Regions from separate parts of the Homo sapiens genome. Here regions 2 and 3 are each linked to region 1. The links are contacts of gene promoters, found by promoter capture Hi-C in blood cells and fetal thymus (Javierre and others, 2016). All regions are on one chromosome and are shown on one strand. The core of a region is centred on a gene start or on the middle of the fragment in contact, and the rest is flanking DNA. Distances in the headings are between cores, read along the strand shown.

Region 1 (3,640 bases), core at 1,133-3,632:
TACTTTAACAAATGGAGTGCATTGTGAGACACACAAGAACACAGACCAAAAAAAAGAAACTGGGAAGCAGCCTGACAAAGGCAGGTGGAGAGTAGCCCCACCCTGGGCACCAGGCACCTCTGCCCATTTCCTGCCACCACCCATGGCTGTGAGGGGCTCCATGAGCCACCCAGACACTGTCACCATGTCTCCCATCCTGCCAGTTGCTGGGCTTTGGCAACTAATCAGCCTGCATCTAAAAGCAAGGTCATTTTAAGAGGGTCTCTGTGACTCTGGCCTCGCTTGCTGAGTCCAAATGTCCATACAGGAGAGGGGCAGGATCTCTATCACATGGCCCCCTTGCTACCAGTGGAGGGTGTCCAGGTTCTTGGGGTCTTGAACAAAGAACTGGACAAAGTTACAAACAAAGGAAGGAAAGAATGAAGCAACAAAAGCAGAGATTTATTGAAAATGAGGTGGGAGTGGCCCCGAGCATAGGGGCTCAAGAGCCCTGTTACAGAATTTTCTGGGGTTTAAATACCCTCTAGAGGTTTCCATTGGTTACTTGGTGTACGCCCTGTGTAAATGAAGAGGATCAAGTAAAGTTACAAAGACATTTACTGGGTTTACGCCTTGTGTCAATGGTGAGGATATTTCCTGTAATAGCTGAAGTATTTCCATTTGATTTAGTTCTAGGAAGTCAGCATGAATCAGTCTTATGTTCCCTGCCTCCAGACCGTATTCTCCTGTCTCACCCCGGGCAGACGTGGGGAGCTGCTGGCTGGTCGGCTGGTCAGCTGGTCAGCTCCCCTGGGAACAGGGCCCATCCCAATTCCCACCAGGTGTAGCCAGGGTGGTGAAGTCAAGTGGGACAACGTGAGGGCCTGTGCTTAAGGCCCCGTTTCCTCGGAAGGGGTTTGGGGCACTCAGGCATCAGGTACTGTACCTCCTGCCCAGGGATCCCAGAGCTGCCTAGAGGAATTTGAGCAGGCTGGAATTCCTGCTGAGCAAGCAAGGCCAGAGTCACAGAGACCCTCTTAAAGTGACCTTGCTTTTAGATGTAAGCCGATTCAGTCTAGGGGGAAAAAATGACCACATGGAACCACTTATAAGGCTCTCTAGCTTAAAAAAAAAAATTATACACCTTAGCTCACCAAAGTCTCCAGGAAGTAGACATTATCAGCAGCATTCCCATTTGACGAATGAGAAGACAAGCTTACAGAGGTTACCTGAATTGCGAGGATCACACAGCTAGTCAGCAAGGGAGCTGAGACTCAAACCTGCGTCTTCAGATTCTGGTTTGCGCCTCCTTCTGACTGCACAGCCCTGCAGGCTCCAGAACATCTCCCTTGCCGGCTCTGCTTCCTTTCCTCAGCTGTTGAATGGTGATGCTCCCAAGGCCGTCCGTTAGGGCCTGCATTTCTCTCCCTCTCCACACTCTCTCTGGTTGTTCTCATTTACCTCCTTGCCTTGGCCTAATATCAAAAAGTCAGTGGCCCCTAGAACTCTCTCCAGCCCAGATCTTTCTCCTGAGTTCCATACCTATATATCTAATGCCTTACTGGACACCTCCACATGGCTGTCCAAGCCACCTCAAGTGCAGTGTTTCTGAAATGAAACTCATCTTTCTCTGTAAACTGCTTCTCCTTCTGTGTTCTCTGAGTAGCAGTGACTTCACTTCTGAAGCACAGACTATGTGTTAGTTATTTCACACATGCAAGAGCGGGGTATCATCGTCCCATTTTACAAAAGATAAAAGTAAGGCTTGGAGACGTTAACTTGCTTGCACAAGGCCATAGTACCAAGTCGTTGACAGAGCCAGAGTTCAAATCAAACTCTATTCTGCATTTCTCTCACTGGCACAGGCTGCCTGGAAACCATGGGGCCTCAGCTCTTCACTCTGTTGCACGAACCAGAAGTCATGGTTCATTCTTGACTCCTCCAACCCTCCCCACCCTCTTCCCACCCTCACCCACCCCAGCTTCTCACCCCCACAGCTGCCTCAGAGCTGAGTCAATCAGTTCTACCACCTAAATGCTTCGCAAGCTGTGCCTTCTCTCCATTCCTATTGTCACTTCCTTGGTTTAGCCCCTAAATTATGTCTCCCTCATTACCTGAAATAACTTCCTAACTAGTTTCTTTGTCTCTAGTAACAACCCCGCTTCAAGTCCTCTCTCCCTGTGAATGAGCTTTCTAAAATATACCCAATCATTGCATTCACCTGGTTAAGACCTCCAAAAGCTTCCACTACCTCCAGGATAAATCCCAAATTCCTGTTTCTGCTGATGCCTGTATATGCAGGTGATCCCTTGCTGGGTCTCTGAAATGGGTTCATCTCTTCAAGGTTTTTACTGAGACGATATAGTCCTCTTGTTGCACATTGCACTGATCCAGGCCATCTGTACTGTATTCCAATGAGCTACAGAAAAATGCTTGCGTGAGAGCCTTTCATATGCAAAAATAAAGACTGAATTATGCCATAACTATTGATAAGTCTACAGTAATCCATCATGCAATTGTTTACCCAATAGATTGTGTTTATATTGTCTTTGGTACCATGTAATTTGTAAATTTTCATGACAGTGTAACCAGTTAGGCCTAGGGTGGCAGGACTTAAGTGTTGCTGAATCATTTATTACTCCACACCTCATTGAAAAGTGCTTCATAAACTTTCTGAAACTGTTCAACAGACAGAGGGTAATTTGTGCTCTGCCAACAAAGGATTCTGTTGTTGAGTGCCTATCAGCATATTAAAGGTTCAGAGAAAACCAGCAATGCAGAAACTAGAGCAATTTTGTTCTCAGAAGATAGTTTTCTTCTGCACATCCATTCGTTAACATATTCTAAAAGAGTCTGCCCTCAACAGGAGTTTGGGGAAGCACTGGGATAGAGTGCAGAGGCCCTGAGGCTTCTGGAGTTTATCTGACTCTGACATCAGGATGCAAGCACAGACCTGCCACTCTCTCAGGAACATCTTTCGTTAACTCCCGTTTGTCTTTCAAGATTCAGTTCAGATGGCATTTCCTCCTAGTGCTCTTCCTCCCTCTCTGTCTGTCACACACTCACAGGTGCATATGCACCCACACATTTGTGACATGTATAATAATTGCATGGGATTTCCTAACACCCTCTTTCATAATACCTGTCTGTATTTTCTATTGGTTGATAGAAAATTCAGCCCAGACGGATGAGAGCCAACAGGAAATTTATAGGCATTGGAGGCACGCTGCTGCAGCAGCTCCAGCCTCACCCATCCCCACCCTGTCCCAGGTCCAAGTTCAGCAGGAAAGCAGGATTGTCTCATAGGTTTTGTGCCCTGCCTGAGGAAATTCCCCAGATTGTGAATCCCCAAAGGTAGACCAGGGTCTCTTATCCCATATCCAGCCCTTAGCACCTTCCTTGGCATGCCTTGTTTTCAACAAATAACAAATGGGGACACAAAATGTTCAAAGCAAGACTTCTACCTCGAAGGAGTTTATAGTCTAGTTCAAGAGTCACTATGTATAAACAGAATAGAAATACAATAGACCATACAAGGTAACATAAATGCCAAATGAGTGACTTGGGTATTAAGTATCAAAGGAATTCAAAGAAGGGACAGTTTTGGGAGTTGATAAATAAGACATAGATCCTGAACTAGAGAAACTGTTTCTAGTAGGAA
Region 2 (3,223 bases), core at 91-2,590, 85 kb before region 1:
CCAAAGTGACCCATAGGATCAGGCTGAGGCTAGACTAATCCTGAAACCACATCTTTGCTCAGCTCCTTGTCCTGCCCCATCCTGCTTCTCTCCCTCCCTCCTTCACACTCTTCTCCCAGGAATGCCCCTAGGAGTCACTTGCACAAAATCTCCATCTCAGGCTCTGTTACTACCAGAGCCAAGACAATATACATACCCTGCTTGTTGGATGTATTTCTTCTGCCCCTCCAGTCTCACTCTCCCCTTCTCTCTACCCTGGTCTGTGTCCCAGGAGACGACTGACCTGAATGCACATGTCAACAGGCTCTCTTGTCCACCGGCTTCTAGTGGGGTTTGACCAATGGGAGGAATTAGCTTTAGAGGGGAAGGGTCTGCGGCGGCACATTGAGGTCAGGTTTTTATTTCCCTAGCTCCTTCCTCCTTGCAGGTTGTCTTGGGTGGACCATGACCTCTACATACTTCTCCAAGAAAATCTCTCAGCAAGAAAAGCCTGAGAGATTGTTCAATTAAGTCTCCCTGATGACTTCAGGGAGAGCTCAGGGAACTGAGGAGAATGGAAGACAGATGGTCAGTTGTTGAGTAGAGAGTTACAGATGCTGTATCAGTCAGGGTTCTCAGCTGTAAGCAACAGAAATTGATTAGAGAATTAAAGCTTTAAAAAAGGATTTATTAAAATAATCTGGGAGCTCACAGTGTTTCTGGGAAGGCTGGAGGTTGAGGCATGGAGGCTATCAAGGGACAACTTCCTAAATCTTTCCACCAACCCTAGACTCTGGAAACTGCCCTCAGCACTGCTGCCACACTTATATTCAAAACTTATTATTTTTCTGAGATAAAAGTTTAACTGGGTGTCTTCAATTTTATCTGGCAACCCTATTGGGGTTATGCAAAATGCTCATCAAGTGCCCCAGAGTGGGGACATTGTTGTGAAAGTTGCACTGTACTAAACCCTGGGCTCTATTTGCATGTCTACTCCACACCACTCCTCTCGTGCTGGGGAGACAGGAGAATTACCCTTATTTTACAGAAGAAGAAATTGAAGTTTAACCCAGGTTCCGTATGTTTCCAAAGCTTGTGGTATTAGCAAAAACTCCCAAGTAGGCAGTTCTCAAATTTTAATGCATGAAACTACATGAAACTCACCTGGGGTGTCTGTTAAAATGCAGATCTCTACATTCATTCCTCCAGAACTTCTGATTCAGTAGGGGCCCAGGAATATGCATCTTAACAAGTTCCCTGTATCCCACCCCCAGGGATTCTAAGGCAGGGGATTCTAAAGACTGCAGAGGCTCATCTATATTATAGATATATATAGATCTATCTATCTATCTATCATCTATCTATCTGACATAGAGATCAACACTCGTGTTAGTTTTGAGGGTCACAAAGTACTCATGTATATTTTTTCCATAGTGAAGTCTGTACCAGTAAATTAGGAGACATTTATGTGCCCCTAGAGTATTTCTTGTTTGACACCCTTCACAAAATTTTCATTCCATGCAGGAAACAAGTCAAATCACTGAACCTTGCCAAAAGATAGGAAATAGCTGTGTCCACAGCTTGCTGATAAATTGCAACCCCAGGGATTCCTTGCCAAGCCAAAGCTTCTTGCTATTTTGGAAATGGAGCTGGGCAGGAGGGAAGAGTACAGAAATTAAAAATGGTAGCTAGAAGCCATGTGGAGAGCAGGTCAAGGGGTAATTTCTCCTTAGCTTGAGCACCTGGCTTTCCTTGGTGAAGGTGGTCACAGAGAGTTGGTCCAAAATCATCAGAAACAACCTGCAAGTCATTCTCCTCAATGACAGAAAACCAAAGTATAAGACATTGGCAATCAATATGGAAAGAATCTCCTAAAATCACAGCCAGTGAAACTCTGGTTCATCAAACACTGTCTGGGCTCTCAGGTCCTGAACACATGGCAGATAATAATTTTGTCTAAACTGAGGTATAAGTAAAACAAGCTGTGATTGCTCAGCCACTTACTAAGAATTTGTTTCATCTTTAAAATGAACTAGAATGGGACAGTGTCATTTCTTCAATCTGATGAGAAATTGTTGGCCACATACTATGTATAATACTATAATATGTGACCTTTTGCATGGCTATTACAAACACATTCTTAGAAAATATTGAGCAACCCTTAAATTTATGGTCATTTTTTTCTGGACAATGGTGCCAAGACACTTCAATGGGTAAAGAATAGTTTTTCAACACATGTGCTATGACAACTGAATATCTACATGCAAAATAATGAAGTGCACCCCTACTTCACACCATATACAAAAACTAAGTCAAAAGGATCAAAGATCTAAATGTAAGGGCTAAAATCATAAAACACTGAAAGGAAAATATAGGTGTAAGTCTTCATGACCTTGGATTATCCAATTGTTTCTTAGAAATGACCCCAAAAGCACAAGCAACAACAATGAAAAATAGATATAATGAGCATTATCAAAACTGAAAACTTTTGTGATTCAAAGGACACCATGAAGAAAGTGAAAAGGCAATCCACAGAATAGGAGAAAAAGTTTACAAATTATATATTTGGTAAGGAACTAACTTTCAAAGAACTCCTACAACTCAATAATAAAAAAGATAAATAATCCAGATAAAACATCAGCAAAGGACCTGAGTAGACATTTCTTTATAGAAGATATGCAAATGGCCAATAAACACATGAAAAGATACTCAGCATCATTAGCTATCAAAGAAATGCATATCAAAAACCACAAGGATATACCACTTCACACCCACTAGGATGGGGCTATAATAAAAAAAAGATACAGAATAAGTGTTCTCAGAAATGTAGAGAATTTGGAAATCTCATACACTGCTGGTGGGAAGACTAAATGGTACAGCTGCTTTCAGTCTGCAATTCTGTAAAAGGTTGAACATAGTGGTACCATAACCCAGAAATTCCTGTAGGGTATACACCCAAGAGAAACGAAAGCCTGTATCCACACAAAAACTTGTTCATGAGTGTTCTTAGCAATCTTATTTATAAAAGCCAAAAAGTAGAAACAACCCGAATATCCATCAATTGATGAATAGATAAATAAAGTATTTTATGTATATACAATGGAATATTATTTGGCAGTTTGACAAGAAATGAAGTACTGATATATACTACGACATTGATGAACCTTGAAACCATTACGCTACGTGAAAGAAGCCAGTTACAGAAGGCCACATATTATATAATTCCATTTATATGAAATGTTCA
Region 3 (3,504 bases), core at 321-2,820, 110 kb before region 1:
TTTAGAGTTGGATGAAAGCCAGCTTTTAAGTGAACCTGGTAAGATTTGTAATGACAATATTTAAAATGAAAGAAGGAAAGAATAAGCTTGCCTGAAACAGAATACACTATCATGGGCAGGAGAGTTATAGCACTAAGGTGTGACTCTTTCACCCAGAAAATGCATTCCTACTTTTCTGTTTCATAAACTGACCTGTAGCTTTAACTCACTACTTTTACACCAGACCGTATTACAGGAGTTGCAAAGAGACAAACTGAACTGCACATTTGCAGTTTATTAACATATGTAAGCACTGTGCCAATACATTTACATGATAAGTAGAAGGCTCAGAAGGTCCCAACAAATCAGGCAGCAGTTTGCTGCCAGGTAAGACAGTCTTGCCAGGGACTCAGTAGAATTCAGGTCCAGCAAGGGGCAGCCACTTCTTCAAGGTTCTTTGATGGGATCCAGTGCCGTGAAGGACACTGAAGAAGTCCATCTGCCCTTCTGCTTGGACTCTCTGCTAGTTGACACAGTTCTTTGTGATTCTTCGACTTCTGTCCATCTGTTGGATGCTATCTGTTACATTAATGGTGACTTCTTTTGCAGGCATTCTCTTAGCATCTCTTTTAGCCTGTTAAGTTGAAAACAGTGAATTGAGTTACTAGGAAATGTAAACCAAAGAAAATGACCGAGGCAAGTCTCAATCAATTTAGAGGTTTATTGTGCCATAGTTGAGAATGTGCCTGGGAAAAAGGAACATAAATCACAGGAACATTTGTGATCTGTGCAAAAATTCCCAAAGAGGGTTTGAGGACTTCACTATTTAAGGGGGAAAGAGTGGGCAGTAAGGGAAAGAGGAAAGGAAAAGGGAGGGTAGAGAATAGGGGCAAACAGTTACATTCTTTTGAGGCTTTGATGAGCATTCACTGAATCCACATTTTATGTGTGAAAGGAGGGGATAGAGGAACAGTCAAATATGCATTTGTCTCATGCTCAATGAACTTGCATTTTTTACATAAGATAAAAGAAACATAGAATAGTTAATGAGTAAAATATGCATTTGTCTCAAGTGAGCAGAGGGATGACTCCTAGTCCTGTCTTTGTCCCATACCTGTGAAGATAAGCTGTTAATTTACATGGGGTGAAATCCAACAGAACTCTGTTTTAGGGTAAAGATCTTAGGGCCCACAAGGAATTTCTTTGTAAGAAATTGTGAGGGAGTCCCCCTGGAAGGTATGTGGCCTTCTATCTTTGCAGTTATCTGTTTAGGAACAAAATGGAAGGCAGTTTTGGGTGGCTTAGCTCCTAAGCTTAACTTTCCCTTTCCATAGTGAGTTTGGGGTCCTGAGATTTTTATTTTCCTTTCACAGAAATATACGAAGGTCCTCACAATTTGCATTAATCTCTTGAGATTATCACAAATACACACACACACATACACGCACACACACAGTCAGGAAGAATGACCCACAAGAACGCATGCACATATGCTTCCTATCAGAGGTTTCTTTGTTGAATCTTTAATACCAACACAGCACAGAGCCTGGAATAGGGCATGTTTATTAAAACACTGTTGAGTGAATGAGCTATGGTCCATCAAAGGGTAATGTGAAAGTTTTCATAGTTGGCTTTAGTAGAGTGGTTAAGTGTTTGAGCTTTGGAGTCAGAGAGACTTTGGTTCAAATACTGGCTATATGATTTCACTATGGGCAAGTTTTTCCAACTCTCTAACCCTTATCTGTAAAATGGGGAATAATAATATTATCTCTCTCATAAGGTTTTTATATGGATTAAATAAGGTAATGCATGTAAGGTACTTAGTACAATGACTGTCACTAAATGAAAATGGGAAAAAAATAAGCTTAAAAAGTAGGATAGACTATCTACTTCTAACTAAGGATAAACCAATGACAAAAGTTCTGAATTAATATTAAACATTAAAGCATTAATTAAATTGTAGGTTCTTTAAGTATATGTGTCCAGTCCCTGACTCTCCATCCCCTAAAAGAGAAAACAGCATTGGTGAGGGGCAGTGTTGTGCCTATTCTTGTGATTGTGTGCTGGGGGTGAACACGAGTGGGCTTGTGAGTCACCTCCACTAGTGGATGGACACAGTTATTTGCTGCCCAGCCCCATTCCAGAAATGACCTGCTGCCTCGCTGCAGGGAGAACAGTCAGCAAGTAGCCTCCAGCTGGGGACAGCATCAGCTGCAGAGAGCCACCTCACTCAAGTTTGTGCCCTTCCCAAGATGGGCCAATGTGCAGGTAAATGGAAGGGCATAAAGGTCTGACCATTTGGGCCCTAAACAGGTCAGCTCCCACAAGCCATTTAGCTGCATGGAGCAGGGGTCGCTGAAGCTGTTGTCAGCTTGCATTGTGGCTGGACTTCTCCCTTAACCCACTCCTGCTTCCATCATCCCTTTCCACAGGCGTTGGCCTCAAGGGCACTTCCTAACATCCTGTATAATGACATCTTGGTCTGCCTCCTGGGAACATAGTCTGCCTCAGATCCTGTGGGAACACCCCTCCAGGCATGAGCACCTCCTTGTGCTGGGTGTTGAGAGATGCACATTTTTCAAACAACATGGCCCCTGAACACAAACTACTTCCTCTGTAGTGCATCCAAATAAATGGTGAACTATTGCACTGATGGAGAAAAATCCATTGTTCTGTTGTATTTATTAGCAAACGATATGTATGTTTCTAATATGTCACATAAATCCTGTGTCCTTGTGTAGCTGATGGCGACACCCCTCTCTAGATCCCCTTTACTCTGCCAGAGCATCCCTCCCAGCTGCTGTGACTGTTGGCTGCTAACTGCTCACAGCACACCCTTCTTTTGAGAATTGCCCTCATCTGATTGGAGCCACCTCCTCCAGGAATGCCAAAGAGGCCCATATCCTGGATAGGCCCATATCCCATGCCTGATTGTTAGGATAAAAAAGGCTGCCCCTTAGCCTCTTGGGGGTACAAATCCATGGTGCTTTGCTTGCCCCAGGTCTCCTTGTGGGATCTGGCTGAGGCTAGACTACAGCTGTTCCGCTGACTGAACTCACACATTTGCTGAATCTGATCCCCTGCCCTGCCCTGCTTCCTCCATTACCATGCAGGTTTCACCTGAGTGTACTTTTTCAATTACTTGCATGAGAATTACTTGCATCCTTTCAATTACTTACATCCTTATCTCAGGTTCTGCGTTTAGGGAACCTAACCAAAGATCATACTTTATGGGTGATTTGAGGAACATTTAAGGATAATTTTGACTCTACATAATTTTAGTCTTATCTATTTATTTCATGAGATAGGATGTCATTGCTTTCCTCTGTGTGTTCCCAGTGCCTAGCACAGTTCTGAGACATCATAAGCTCTCAGTTTAACTTTGTTTGAATAAGTGAATGAATGAATGAATGAATGCACCACACTTGTCAGTGTACCCTTGCTTTAACAACCAGTAGGCAATACTATTTAGGGCTCAGTCTTACACTCAGGTTTTCTGAGCCTGAACTGGCACTAGGGCTAGCA

What was found. The method cuts DNA at HindIII sites, captures the fragments that hold promoters and counts their contacts. A CHiCAGO score of 5 or more calls a contact.
Region 2: a fragment that was not itself captured here is called in contact with the fragment with the promoter of LINC01181 in region 1 in 2 of 17 cell types (endothelial precursors and megakaryocytes); the score reaches 5.7 in endothelial precursors.
Region 3: a contact is called between a fragment that was not itself captured here and the fragment with the promoter of LINC01181 in region 1, in 2 of 17 cell types (endothelial precursors and megakaryocytes). The highest score is 7.4, in endothelial precursors.

The regions. Positions count from the first base shown.
Region 1 is chr8:103,119,774-103,123,413 of GRCh38, reverse strand. LINC01181 (long intergenic non-protein coding RNA 1181) reads right to left here and starts at 2,382. Exons shown (of 6, transcript NR_145429.1): 1 at 2,201-2,382. RefSeq lists an enhancer at 844-1,345. The HindIII fragment of the contact is 1,509 bases long and covers 2,223-3,640 here.
Region 2 is chr8:103,203,650-103,206,872 of GRCh38, reverse strand. The region is part of intron 1 of BAALC (BAALC binder of MAP3K1 and KLF4); the gene reads right to left. Among named protein-coding and RNA genes, the nearest start is that of BAALC-AS1, 33 kb to the right of the region's middle. The HindIII fragment of the contact is 533 bases long and covers 1,074-1,606 here.
Region 3 is chr8:103,225,098-103,228,601 of GRCh38, reverse strand. It overlaps BAALC (BAALC binder of MAP3K1 and KLF4), which reads right to left. Exons shown (of 3, transcript NM_024812.3): 3 at 1-613. The coding sequence ends at 503. Among named protein-coding and RNA genes, the nearest start is that of BAALC-AS1, 55 kb to the right of the region's middle. The HindIII fragment of the contact is 551 bases long and covers 1,295-1,845 here.